Regions from separate parts of the Homo sapiens genome. Here regions 1, 2, 3 and 5 are each linked to region 4. The links are contacts of gene promoters, found by promoter capture Hi-C in blood cells and fetal thymus (Javierre and others, 2016). All regions are on one chromosome and are shown on one strand. The core of a region is centred on a gene start or on the middle of the fragment in contact, and the rest is flanking DNA. Distances in the headings are between cores, read along the strand shown.

Region 1 (2,700 bases), core at 121-2,620, 130 kb after region 4:
TCTCTGGTAGGACAATTTATTCAAAATTACTTGTGTGTATTTCCTGGAAAAAAGTTTTTAGACAGTTCATTTAAAAATACTTGCCAAGTGCAGTGGTGCATGCCTGTAGTGCCAACTACTTGGGAGACTAAAGTGGGAAAACTGCTTGAGCCCAGGAGTTCGAGGCTGCAGTGAGCAATGATTGCACCTGTGAATACCCACTGCACTCAAGGCTAGACAACATAGTGAAACCCTGCCTCTAAAAAACAAACAAACAAAAATCTATAAAAGTAATATTTCAGTATGTATACATATATTTTTTACCTATATTCAGTAAGAACTGGAAGGTATTCTAGTTCAGAGAATGTATATTGATATTGTCCCTTTAAAATAATGCATACTCAGTAATGATGTTTTAGTTACTGACATTTCTTACCTTAACTCGTAGAACTCACTAGTTTTTTTATTTTCTTCTCTCTAATCTCTTTTAAGTTTCATTTACTTTTAACATTGATACTTGTTTTCTTCATAACTAAAGTAACCAAGTTTTTTTGGTTTGTTTTGTTTTACCAATTTCCTTGAGGTGCTTAACTTTTTTAAATGAAGAAGGAAATATTCGTATCTAAAGCAGTGTTTAAAAGGTACATCACAAAGTTGCCTATATATAATAAAAATACTAACAAATAAACTAACTTATTAAAGTATGAAGCATTACCTTTTGTGACATTTGAATCTCTTGTTTGACATCAGATGATACCAGAGCATTGTGCCTTGACTCTTGTCAAGCTATTTCCTTGCTGGGTAGTAAAGATCAGTAGTTGTTTCTATTATTGTGATACTGTAGAGAGCTTTAAAATTTATCTTTCATGTTTATCTTATGTAATCCTCATAGCAGCCAGTGAGGTAGGTGGTATTTTTCTACTTTCTAAAGATGAGAAAATGGAAGCCCAGAGATGATGTAACTTATATGGTATCACTGAGTAAGTAGAAGAACAATTTTACTTTTTTTTTTTTTTTTTTTTTTTTTGAGACAGAGTCTCACTCTGTTGCCAGGCTAGGGTGCAGTGGCACAGTCTCGGCTCACTGCAACCTCTGCCTCCTGTATTCAAGCGATTCTCATGCCTCAGCCTCCCAAGTAGCTGGGATTAGTGTCACCACACCCAGCTAATTTTTGTATTTTTAGTAGAGACAGGGTTTCACTATATTGGCCAGGATGGTCTCGATCTCCAGACTTCATGATCCGCCCTTCTTGGCCTCCCAAAGTGTTGGGATTACAGGCATGAGCCACCACGCCCAGCCAGAACAATATTTTTAAATACATTTTTTCCTTCCTTTTTTTTTTAAAGTATTTCTTAGATTTTTAATTCAATAAATTGTGGCCAATTTTTCTTTATTTTTCTGACTGGGTTCTTTATTAAATCATGTAATTCACAAAACTAGTTTATAGAATATTCAGATAAATGTTAAAAAGTATACATGTACCTGGCCAGGTACGGTGGCTCACGCCTGTAATGCCAGCACTTTGGGAGGCTGAGGCAGGCAGATCACAAGGTCAGGAGATCAAGACCATCCTGGCTAACATGGTGAAACCCCATCTCTACTAAAAATACAAAAAATTAGCCAGGCGTGGTGGCGGGCCCCTGTAGTCCCAGCTACTTGGGAGGCTGAGGCAGGAGAATGGTGTGAACCTGGGAGGCGGAGCTTGCAGTGAGCAGAGATCGTGCCACTGCACTCCAGACTGGGCGACAGTGCGAGACTCCGTCTCAAAACAAAAACAACAAAAAAAGTATACATGTACCTGTTTAATTAACTACCAGTATAAACGAAGATTATTTGATATTTCTTCACTCTGAGGACTGATTTTATTAGGATATCTCCTTTTATAAAGCAATTTCTTTTCTTCATAATATAGATTGTGAACTTAGTATAGAATAGAATTCCAAAGAGAAGATCCAGAAATGTTTTTAAATATTGTTTACACCTCTGGAAAAAGTACTACTAGAAATACATTTGAAGAGTAAATATATCTATGCATGCGTACTTAAATGCCAGCCATATAAACAGGCCTGAAAACTATCCAGAGCTATACAGACAGATGATGGTTCAACTTCACGATTTTTTGATTTACGATGGTGTGAAAGCAATATACATTCAGTAGAATCTATACTTCGAATACCCATACAACCATTCTGTTTTTTCACCTTCAGTACAGTATTCAGTAAATTACATGAGATAATACTTTATTATAAAATATGATTTCTGTTATATTTTGCCTAGCTGTAGGATAATGTAAGTGTTCTGGGCACATTTAAAGTAGGTTAAACATATTAAATACATTTTCAACCTATGATATTTTCAGTTTTTGATGGGCTTATCAGGACATAACCCCATTGTAAATTGAGGAGCATCTGTGTAAGTACTTAGAACGGGCATTTTTTTATTTTACATTCCTATATTAAATTTATTTTTACTATGGTAACAAAGGGCCATTTCATTTTTATCTTATTTTTTTCATTTACCTTACAATAAATGGTCATTTACAGGTTATAAATGCACAATATAATATATAAACTATAGGCTATAAAAAACTTAGCTATAAAGGTTGTAATCTAATGATTAATGATGAGAGAAGATGGTTTACTTGTTTCATGCCTTTGCTTACACGTATAATTGGTATAATTTCTCATGGTTCTAGTTTTTGTTCACAACTTTTAGATATTA
Region 2 (2,746 bases), core at 75-2,574, 170 kb after region 4:
TTTAAAACTGGATTTCTGGCTCATCTCTTGTAAGATGTTAAAGTTCTTTTCATGCAAATGGAAGGGATCTTAGGGCAACTTTAAGTTTGAAAAATATAAAATGAATGGAAAGATTTCTACCAATTTATCTGTTGCAGGGAAGCAAAATACAAACAAGAGTTGGATTATTAATGTTGCTTTGTACCTGGCTAAGCAATTGTCCCATTGCAGTAACGCATTTTCTTCACAATTCAGCCAATGTTCCATTTGTATCCTTTATGTTTTAGTAACGTACATGTAAGTATTTATATCTTTTTTAGTTTTTCTCCTCAATTAGAAGTAGTTCTATGCCCAAAATATTTGAATTCTCCACTATCTTATCTGTGTTGCAACTTTTTAAACTGTTAAAGTTGTTATGATGCTTGTTTAAGTTGTGTGTGTGTGGTTTGTTTTATGCCGGGTTGGAATATATATATGAAATTTCTTTTTTTTTTTTTTGAAATGAAGTCTTGCTCTGTCGCCCAGGCTGGAGTGTAGTGGCGCGATCTCGGCTCACTGCAACTTCCGCCTCCCAGGTTCAAGCAATTCTCCTGCCTCACTCAGCCTCCTGAGTAGCTAGGATTACAGGTGTGCGCAACCACAACCCGGCTAATTTTGTATTTTTAGTAGAGACATGTTGGCCAGGCTGGTCTCAAACTCCTGACCTCAGGTGATCCACCCACCTTGGCCTCCCAAAGTGCTGAGATTACAGGCATGAGCCACCACACCTAGCCTATATATGGAATTTCTTATGGGAACTCTTATGTGAAGTATTAATGTATGTCAAATTCAAATTGCAAAATGTACTAGATATTTTCAATCCTTAGCCTCCTTAACAAAGATTTCAGCTTACAGGACAAATTGCAGAAAATCTTGGAGAAGAAGAGCAGTTGGTCCAAGGCTTATGTGCCCTTTTGTTGGGCATTTCGATTTATTTCAATGATAACTCACTTGAGAGCTACATGAAGTAAGTAAGGGGAAGATGGTTTTCTAATGGCATCAAGAGATAATGATGCTTTTTTTTTTTTTTTGCCAAAGCATTATGTAGACCAAGCTTTTATGTTTTGTTTTGATTTTATTTTTTTTAAAGCATCTCAATATGCTTATCTCCGTAGAGAGAAGCTAAAACAACTGATTGAGAAGAGGATTGGCAAAGAGAATTTCATAGAGAAACTAGGATTTATTAGCAAACATGAGTTGTATTCCAGAGCATCTCAGAAACCCCAGCCAAACTTTCCCAGTCCAGAATACATGATATTTGATCATGAGTTTACGAAGCTGGTAAAAGAACTTGAAGGTAAGACTGAAGATTTATATTGATATTTGATGGAAAGTAATTATATTTATATTGTACATGTATATTCTGGATGCATACAGGTTATATGGTAACTCTAAAGGTATATTTTCTTCCTAGCTCTTGATCTGTAGCCCATTGAAGGACATTTGGCTTTCAGTAGGATTGAAAAGATTATTTCTTACCTATCATGGAGTTAGGTTATATGTTTTTACTAAGTCTTAGTAGTAAAATAGTATTTAAAACATTTAAAACAAATTTTAAATAAGCTTCCTTTTATAGGTGTTATAACTAAGGCTATTTATAAGTCCAGTGAAGAAGATAAAAAAGAAGAAGAGGTGAAAAAAACATTAGAACAGCATGACAATATTGTGACTCACTACAAAAATATGATTCGAGAGCAGGTAAGTACTAATGAACTGTATATACCCTCTGATTACCAATAGGCACTTTCTGCTTTAAGGGAGCCTTTTTTTCTGACATTTCAAATGAAAGAGGATATAGAAAGCAAAACCCATCATTTTTCAAAGCATCTGAGTATTCAACAAACAGAGTGCTTAATATGTGCTAAGCACCATGCAGCTGATTTATTAGATAATGATGAGTGGATAAAGATGAAACTACAATTGCGGAATCATCAGTTGACATTTTCTTTCCAGGATACCAGTGAACTTTCATTACTTGCATTGTGTTGAGTACCCTAAACCTTCATTATATTCCTTCAAAATGTTTTCTTGACTTTTACTCTCATTTAATTTCTTATGATATTTACCTTGATTGGAATTCTAGAAAGTGCTGAAAAATGAGGTTATTAATGTTGTTAAAATTCCAGTGTCATAAAAAAATACAATAGTGGCAGACCCTGTGGGACAGATTCATCCCCTTCCCTCTACTGCTCTCCACACCTGTCTACTAATTGTGCACAGTTTATGGCAGGTGTGGCAAGTAAAAGCATAGATAGAACCCTTTAAATTGACAACTGTTTATATCTTATTTTCTTCCTCACAATCTACATTACTGAGATTAGTTTGTTTTTTGTTTAGACAGAGTCTTGCTCTTGTTTCCCAGGCTGGAGTGCAGTGGCGCAGTCTCGGCTCACTGCAACCTCCGCCTCCCAGGTTCAAGCAATTCTCTTGCCTCAGCCTCGCAAGTAGCTGGGATTATAGGCGTGTGCCACCACGCTGCCTAATTTTTATATTTTTAGTAGAGATGAGGTTTCACCATGTTGGCTGGTGTTGATCTCCTGACCTCGGGTGATCCCTTCCCTTCCCTGCCTCAGCCTTCCGAAATGCTGGGATTATAGGCATAAGCCAGCGCGCCCAGCCTACTGAGATTAAAATTTTAAGAAAGAATGAAAATATTGTGGTATATTTAGCATTCATTCTAAGCTTTTCAGTTTAAAAGTAAATCAATCAATAAATTATAATCTTAGAA
Region 3 (2,700 bases), core at 24-2,523, 190 kb after region 4:
TATATCATATGAGTTTTACTGGCAACCAAAACCTGTGACTGGTGCTGATAGGGACAGAATTGTATTTGAAGCAGGATTGGCATTCAGATCCTCAATTTGCATCTTCCTGTTTTATGGTCATAATTGGCTCACAGACCCATTTACTGGCAAACCTATTACTGTCAAAGGGAATGAAACCACCATGATTGCCTTGACTAATTGCAGTTAGTCACTCACGTTCCTGGTGTGTAGTAGGTGAGTGGGCAGCACCTCTTAAAGCACACTTCTCGGGGTGGGTGATAGATACATAAACAAAACAAGGGTTATGTTAGGAAGAAGGAAACCTAAACCCTTGCTCCTACACTTTTAAATTTCTGAGCGAATTACAAAACCTCTAAGAATCTTAGTTTCTTCCTGGAGCTAATTATACCTACCTAATAGGGTTATTGTGAAGATTAAAATTATTGAATTTCTTTTTTCTTTTTTGAGACAGAAGCTCTGTTGCCCAGGCTGGAGTGCAGTGGCACGATCTCGGCTCACTGCAAGCTCCGCCTCCCAGGTTCACGCCATTCTCCTGCTTCAGCCTCCCGAGTAGCTGGGACTACAGGCGCCGGCCACCACGCCTGGCTAATTTTTTGTATTTTTAGTAGAGATGGGGTTTCACCATGTTAACCAGGATGGTTTCGATCTCCTGACCTCGTGATCTGCCCGCCTCAGCCTCCCAAAGTGCTGGGATTACAGGCGTGAGCCACCACGTCTGGCCTAAGAGTGGGTTTCACCATGTTGGCCAGGTTGGTCTCGAACTCCTGACCTCAAGTGATCCACCTGCCTCAGCCTCCCGAAGGGCTGGGATTACAGGCATGAGCCACCACGCCCAGCCTTAAACTTTTAATACACACATAAAAGTCTGCTTAGGCTGAGTTATGCTGTAGAAACAAACAAGTCTTAAATTTCAGTGGCTTACCCAAAGGTACTTCTTGTACACATTCATATCTTTGGCATGCCAGCTGTGGCTCTGCTCCAAATCTTCATTTCAAGACCAACACTGAAGAAGCAGCTTCTGGCTGGGTATAGTGCCTCGTGCCTGTAATCCCAGCACTTTGGGAAGGTGAGGCAGGTGTATCGCTTGAGCCCAGGAATTGGAGACCAGCCTGGCCAACATGGCAAAACCCCCATCTCTACAAAAAAAAAATACAAAAATTAGCCAGGAGTGGTGGCACATGCCGATAGTCCCAGCTACTCAGGAGGCTAAGGTGGGAGGATCGCTTGGGACCAGGAGGCAGAGATTGCAATGAGCAGAGATCGTGCCGTTACATTCCAGCCTGGGCAACAGAGTGAAACCCTGTCTCAAAAAAAAGCAGCAACTTCTCTCTGGGAAAGGCAGGTCTTGTGACAGAGGCAAACGAGAGATGGCAGAATCTCACAGTGGCATTTATAACTTCTGCTTTGAAGTGGCAACATTTCCATTCACATGTCATTGGCCAAAGCAAGTCATGTCCAAACTAATATCAATGCAAAGCATAATCCCATAAGGACACATCTGATATAGAGGGGCAGTGAAAATGTCAACAATAATATAATCTATGAGAGGATACAGAAGCATAACCAGTAAATGTTAGTGTCCTTCCCTTTCCTCTTTTCCCTTACTGGTTCCCCCTGAGAAACACAAGTGTACAGCATGGAGAGGCTGTGTGATGTCATAATTAAGAGTGTAGATTCTGAGAACAGACTGCCTGAGTTCAAATCCTTACTCTGCCATTTTCCAGCTGTGTGGCTTTGGGCAAGTTATTTAACCTCTCTGTGCCTCAACTTCTTCATGTAAACTGGCAGTAATAATAATACGAATGCCACAGAGCTGTGGATGAAATGAGCCCATGTAAGTAAAGTGCATAGTACATGGTAAGCCCTATATGAAAGTGTTAACTTTGTTATTGCTCCTGTCATTATTGAAGGAAACCTGGTGGGAAGTCAAAAGACCTAATATAAAATCTCAGCATTATAATTCTTTTTTTTTTTTTTTAAGATGGAGTCTTGCTCTGTCGCCCAGGCTGAAGTGCAATGGCGTGATCTAGGCTCACTGCAACCTCCTGCTGGGTTCCAGCGATTCTCCTGCCTCAGCCTCCAGAGTAGCTGGGATTACAGGTGCGCGCCACCATGCCCAGCTAATTTTTTTTGTATTTTTAGTAGAGATGGGATTTCACCATGTTGGTCAGGCTGGTCTCGAGCTCCTGACCTTGTGATCCGCCCACCTTGGCCTCCCAAAGTGCTGGGATTACAGGCGTGAGCCAGCGTGCCCGGCTGCATTATAATTCTAATAGTGACTTTGAGCAAGTTACATAATTTCTGCAAACCGCTTATTCCTTCGTCTGTAAAATTAGAATAACACTCATTTCTGGAGAGGCCACTTAGGACAATGGTTAAAAGTATGGACTGTGGAGCTGGAATACCTTGGATCAAATTCCAACTCCACCACTTTCAAACTGTGTGACTTTGGGCAAATTACTTCAATTTTATTATCCATAACACAGGGACAATCATCATACCTTACCTTCACAGGAATAGTATGAGAATTAAGTGGATTAACAGTTGACATGCAACATTGTTAGAATAGTGCCTGGTGCTTAACAAAGGTTCATTAACTGTTTGGCACATAGAGGAAGTGCTTCATAAGTGTTAACTATTCTCACAGGCTATGAGGGGATTGGCTGTATGAACAGGCAT
Region 4 (2,700 bases), core at 192-2,691:
AAAAAAAAATCTCCATATAATTCTATCCCTTCTTAATTTTTTTCTCTTCCATTAAGAGAGTATGTTTTATTAAGCACTAGGCTTTAGGTTTATCATACCAATGACAAAAATAGCTTGAATCTATAACCTGGATTATTTTAAAACATTTTGTAATTGATGTCCTCAATATTTGAAAGCACAAAGTGAACCAAAAAAAATGACTTTAAGCATGTCTGAGGTGTTCTGAAGCATATCCCAAGCTAACATTAATGCAAGTTGACTGCTTCAAGTTTATTCTCCCAACCAATTGCATATCTGGACACACCACATTGAACACACCTGCTTTTTCAAGTGACACTGTCCACAAATACTTTAAAAGTATCACAGCCTACAAAGCCTCCTGTTTCCTGAAACAGTTACTCATAAACTATAACTTCTCATGCCTTCTACTCTTGAACGGAAAGGTAATACAAACGAAAAAGAAACCTGGCCAATGGGCAAGGTGTTATTTCTGGATGGTTCTAAAAGCAACAATTTTGATAAAAATATTTGGAGAATGCTAATTTTTTATTTTGTTTAAGACAGATTAAAGGGCCGGGAGCGGTGGCTCACGCCTGTAATCCCAACACTTTGGGAGGCCGAGGCGGGCGGATCACCTGAGGTTGCGAGTTCGAGACCAGCCTAACCAACATGGAGAAACCCTGTCTCTACTAAAAATACAAACTTAGCCGGGCGTGGTGGTGATGCCTGTAATCCCAGCTACTTGGGAGGCTGAGGCAGGATAATCGCTTGAACCCAGGAGGCAGAGGTTGCGGTGAGCCGAGACCATGCCATTGCACTCCAGCCTGGGCAACAAGAGTGAAACTCCGTCTCAAAAAAAAAAAAAAAAAAAAAAAAAAAAAAAAAAAAAAAAGATTGAAATCTTTTATAGATCAAAGAACGAGATAATAGAAGCTTTAAAACGTACTATACTTACCGTTTCTTCAATCCGTTCGCATAGAAAGACCCAAAGGTTTTCAACTTGGAAACAAATTTGAGGTGAAATGCATATGGTTCGCAGGTCCAAAAGATGCTGCCTAGCAAACTAGCAATTCCAGCGCTGTTGTGATTTCTTCTGCGGACGCAGTCACGAGTCCAGGGCGAAGCAGGCAGGGAGGCAGGTGGGCCTCGGTCCGCCGCAAGCTCACACTTAGGAGGACCACGGGCCGCATGCTGTCGTCGTCAAGGCAACGACCTCACTCTGTCCCCAACCATAGGCACAAAGTCTTGGGAGACAGATACGGCCCAGGTCAGAATGCGTTCACGGCAGGCACCAACACCTGTGAAGGCCAAGGGCTAGAGAGCAATTAGCTGGGTGAGAGGCACCACCTCCCAGCTCGTAAGGCGCCCAGTACCTGGAGCCTGGGAACCTGCACCGCTCCAACTACCCCTGGGCGAAGGCGTTGGCCGCGGAGCTGCAAGGGGGGGCGGTTTCTCACCCGCCCCGAGAGCGCCAGGCCTCCCTTCTTCTGATTGGCCGAGCCGAGTCGTCACGAGCCATGATTGGCTCAGGGCCAACCACCCCGCCCCTTCACCTAGGGCTCGGCCCAGGTTCTGCTCCCTGACACGCAGAGGCCCTGCGTCCCCACACGCCTTGGTTCTCGTCAGGAGGCGCCTTTCTGCCTTCCCCAGCGGGAGGAGGCGATTGTGATGCCCACGCGAAGGGTAAAGGTGGCGGTTATGTAGGACTGCGAAGACTATGCAAAATGCGATACGGTTTCCCTCATAGCATCGCCGCTGGGGCAGGGGCGGGCGCCGGGCGCCCTGAGTCGCGTAGGCGCGGCCTGACCGGGATTCCATGCTTCCTTTCTGTTCTGGGCGGTGGGGCCAGTGTGAGCCAGGTAGGAGATAACGGTGACAGTTTAGGAGGTGATGATTAGTAGGCGAGGCAAGGTGGAAGAAGGTAGGTGATGACAGACCTGACGTTAGGAGGGACCTTGGGAAGGCCAGTCTGGCCATTGAAAGTGAGGGAAAACACTGAGATGGAGGAAGGGGAAGAGAGGGCATGAGTGGAATGGGAAAGCGCTGGGATGGCTGGGGATCTGGAGGACACGCACAACACCCGCGTATGGCAGCCAAATGGGGTGGAGTTAGGGCTTGCGATAAAACTTGCCTTAAATGCAAAAATGCAGCTCAATCCACGACTGAGCAAGACTGGTAGGTCAGAATCATGCACAGGCTTAAATCACACAGGAACAGAGCTTACCCCATTTTCAAAGAATCTGAGGCAGCGAGGAGGCCATAAGGCCAGTAAAATAACACTTTCAATCATGATAACTAAATGTTCATGATCATTTTGGTCTCGAAACTACTTTGATTTAGGGAATAGAGTGTCCTGGATAGACAAATGTCTACCATATACCCTAGTCAATATTAAGGTATTAATCATTAATGTTAAGGTATTGATTCCTTCTTGTACATTAAGAAATAGACATTCTTTTTATAGTCTTTTGTGAGTTTGGTTAGTTTGCATTAATCTCCCAGTGGTTAATTACCTTGGTCAGACTGCTTAAAATCTAGTTCCTGAACCTGTAATATTGAGAACCAGACCTGAGGCCTAGTTATGGAAAGAATAGAATTATTTGGTCAATTCAAGATGTGACTCTTAGTGTAGCAATTAGCTCTGTCCTTAGCTGTGTCCAAGTTGCGAGAAGCCCTGTCCCATTTGGTACCTCTATAGGC
Region 5 (2,700 bases), core at 120-2,619, 150 kb after region 4:
GATGAAAATTCTGGCTGGTCTGCACAGAAAGTGACCAATCTACATCTAATGCTACAGGTATACTATCCTTAGACATAAATGTGGTAAGAATTTTGACAGTGATCTTTTCAAAGAGAAGAAAATCGCTTGTATTTGATAAATCCAGAATATTTGATGGATTTCAGGTTGGCTTAAAAAAACTGTAATATGGAAATTTGCAGTTATCCTCTAGCTAGAGATCTTGCCTACCCATTACTTAGCTTTGACAGTTATTAACATCTGGCAATTTTGTTTCATCGTTTATTCCTCTCTGCTGTATGATTTTAAAGCAAATTCAGACATACAGTTTCCTGATGGGTTTTACATTAAGGAATAATAGGTTACATTGTTGATTTGAATTTTTAAAAACCTGCTTTCTTCACTTAGGGCTCTAATAGGATAAATTTTAATATTCAAACTATTAAGTTCAAATAAATTCATTCAGTAAGCATTTACTGAGAGCCAGGCACTGGATGCTAGGAAATAAATGATCATGTCCTGCCCCCAAAGATGATTAGTCTGAGTTTTAAGTCCAAAACATGTTAAATTGACAGACCACCTGTGATTTATTGATCCTTTATGGTGAAAGCTTAGTGGTAATAATAAAAGTGAGGACAGTAGGATCCCAAATTATTTCCTCATCAGAGAAAATTTTGAAGTTCTTTGAAGTAGTCTACTTACTCCTTTATTGAATCCTCCTTCTCCAAACTGTTAAGTTTATACTAGTCTCCTTACTTATGAACTCATAATTCTTGTGGGCCTTTGAATGTCTCTGAATTATACCTGTGTTTCTCGGAAGTTGTGGACCTAACTAGATGGTTAGGTCCGCTAGTAATTAGAGGCTGAATGTTGTCCCATGCCATGGGAGTTGCCTGCATAGGACTGATAATTAGGGTAATCTGTGTCCCAGTTTGCCAGTACATTACTCGTTTTGTAATTACTAATAGCATCCTCTTTCACTTCAAAAGTGTCCTGGTTTGGATTATAAATTATGCAGTTACCCTAGTTAGAATATGCCTAAAAACTGTTACAAAAGTATTTACCAGGAGAACTTAGTTACAGAGTCTATTTGTACTCCCAACTCATCATTTCTGTTTTCAAATGTTGGTATTATACATTTAAGAAGTTAATAGTTTTTTAATGTTTTAGAAACAGTGTCACCAAGTGGTAACCTTGATACCTTTGTTCAAAACTGCTTTATTTTGTTTTGTTTTGTTTAAGAGACAGGTTCTTACTTAGTTGCCTAGGCTGAGTGCAGTGGTGTCTTCACAGCTTATTGCAGCCTCAACCTCCCTGGCTCAAGAAATCCCCCCACCTCAGCATCCTGAATAGCTGGGACTACAGGCGCAAGCCACCAGACCTGACTGGATTTTTTATTTTTAGTAGACATGAGGTCTCACTGTATTGCCAGGCTGGTCAGGAATTCCTGAGCTCAAGCAATTCTCCTGCCTCAGCTTCCCAAAGTGCTGCTGTTATAGGTGTGAGCCACATGCCCGGCCTACACTGCTTTCTTAAATAAGGAAATTCCTCTAGAAAAGTAATTTCCAAAATGTGATTAGAGAGGGTGAGAGAATCTGATGATATAAAAAAGCATGTATTTCGTATCAAACAGTGAAAATTTAAATTGTTTGAGGAAGCTACACATGTTTTATGGTTTAGGGTACTATGTAAAGAATTATTCTGAAGGAAGTGTCACTGTTAAAAAGTAAAGTAGGTCAGGTGTGGTGACTCACACCTATGATCCCAGCACTTGGGGAGCCCAAGGCAGGTGGGGATCACTTGAGCTTAGGAGTTTGAGACCAACCTAGGCAACATGGTCTTTATCAGCCCGGTGTGGTGGTGTCCACCTATTGTCCCAACTACTCAGGAGGCTGAAGGGGAGGATCACTTAAGCCCAGGAGGTTGAGGCTGCATTGAACCATAATCACGCCACGCACTCCAGCCTGGGAACAGAGTGAGACTCTATCTCAGGAAAAAAAAAAAAAATTACCAAAAAATTATTAGAGTACAGCATGTAAACAGAAAAATACAGTATTCTCGTTATATAACAAGTTGATTCTTTAAGAATTCTTTACTTTTAAAAAGTGAATAAACTGACTTTCTGTAGCTTAGTAAAGCTTTTATCTCTTACACTTGTCGTGAAGACCGTAAACTCCAAAGCAGAGGAACTGAGTTTAATTCATTTTAATATATTCTCCACCTGCAATACTGAATAGTAGATTCACTCATGACTTTACAGGCCAGGAGTTATCTTCTGCTATTCTGTTAGAACCTGTTGGAATACTTTATGTATAACTTTATTTAGAGTTGCTTGGATTTTAAGTTCTCTATTATACACTAAATAAAAATGCATCATTGTTTTCCTGTTGGGACATACACATTCTGTGTTGGAACTATTCATCATCACAGTTATCATGATTGCATTCTGAGCTACTAAAAACAGAATTGATCTGCTTGCTGAGTTTTAATTCAAATTTTGCAGACTATATTTAGGGAAAACATCTTTTGAAAAGTTTTTTAGTTATAAAATATTTTATTTTTTTAAAAAATTATAGTTTTATGGCTAGTCTACTTTTTATCCCTGCAGGAGTCTCTTCTATGGCATTTTATTGGGAAGATACTGCCAATAGCTCCCAGAAAGTTCATAACCTTATAAGATAATCATTTTCATTCTAGGGTAGT

What was found. The method cuts DNA at HindIII sites, captures the fragments that hold promoters and counts their contacts. A CHiCAGO score of 5 or more calls a contact.
Region 1: a contact is called between a fragment that was not itself captured here and the fragment with the promoter of CDKL2 in region 4, in 1 of 17 cell types (total CD8 T cells). The highest score is 5.1, in total CD8 T cells.
Region 2: a fragment that was not itself captured here is called in contact with the fragment with the promoter of CDKL2 in region 4 in 3 of 17 cell types (total CD8 T cells, naive CD4 T cells and naive CD8 T cells); the score reaches 6.8 in total CD8 T cells.
Region 3: a contact is called between a fragment that was not itself captured here and the fragment with the promoter of CDKL2 in region 4, in 3 of 17 cell types (activated CD4 T cells, megakaryocytes and neutrophils). The highest score is 6.7, in activated CD4 T cells.
Region 5: a contact is called between a fragment that was not itself captured here and the fragment with the promoter of CDKL2 in region 4, in 8 of 17 cell types (total CD4 T cells, total CD8 T cells, naive CD4 T cells and 5 more). The highest score is 8.5, in total CD4 T cells.

The regions. Positions count from the first base shown.
Region 1 is chr4:75,761,184-75,763,883 of GRCh38, forward strand. All of the region lies in intron 4 of USO1 (USO1 vesicle transport factor), which reads left to right. Among named protein-coding and RNA genes, the nearest start is that of USO1, 38 kb to the left of the region's middle. The HindIII fragment of the contact is 2,755 bases long and covers 1-2,700 here.
Region 2 is chr4:75,799,485-75,802,230 of GRCh38, forward strand. USO1 (USO1 vesicle transport factor) reads left to right here. Exons shown (of 24, transcript NM_003715.4): 14 at 138-248; 15 at 867-985; 16 at 1,134-1,315; 17 at 1,595-1,716. Among named protein-coding and RNA genes, the nearest start is that of USO1, 76 kb to the left of the region's middle. The HindIII fragment of the contact is 509 bases long and covers 1,071-1,579 here.
Region 3 is chr4:75,821,226-75,823,925 of GRCh38, forward strand. It overlaps LOC105377284 (a long non-coding RNA gene), which reads left to right and starts at 1,292. Exons shown (of 5, transcript XR_938891.2): 1 at 1,292-1,855. The HindIII fragment of the contact is 3,434 bases long and covers 1-2,700 here.
Region 4 is chr4:75,629,087-75,631,786 of GRCh38, forward strand. CDKL2 (cyclin dependent kinase like 2) reads right to left here and starts at 1,442. Exons shown (of 14, transcript NM_001330724.2): 1 at 956-1,442. The HindIII fragment of the contact is 1,829 bases long and covers 932-2,700 here.
Region 5 is chr4:75,782,802-75,785,501 of GRCh38, forward strand. It overlaps USO1 (USO1 vesicle transport factor), which reads left to right. Exons shown (of 24, transcript NM_003715.4): 9 at 1-57. Among named protein-coding and RNA genes, the nearest start is that of USO1, 60 kb to the left of the region's middle. The HindIII fragment of the contact is 1,528 bases long and covers 606-2,133 here.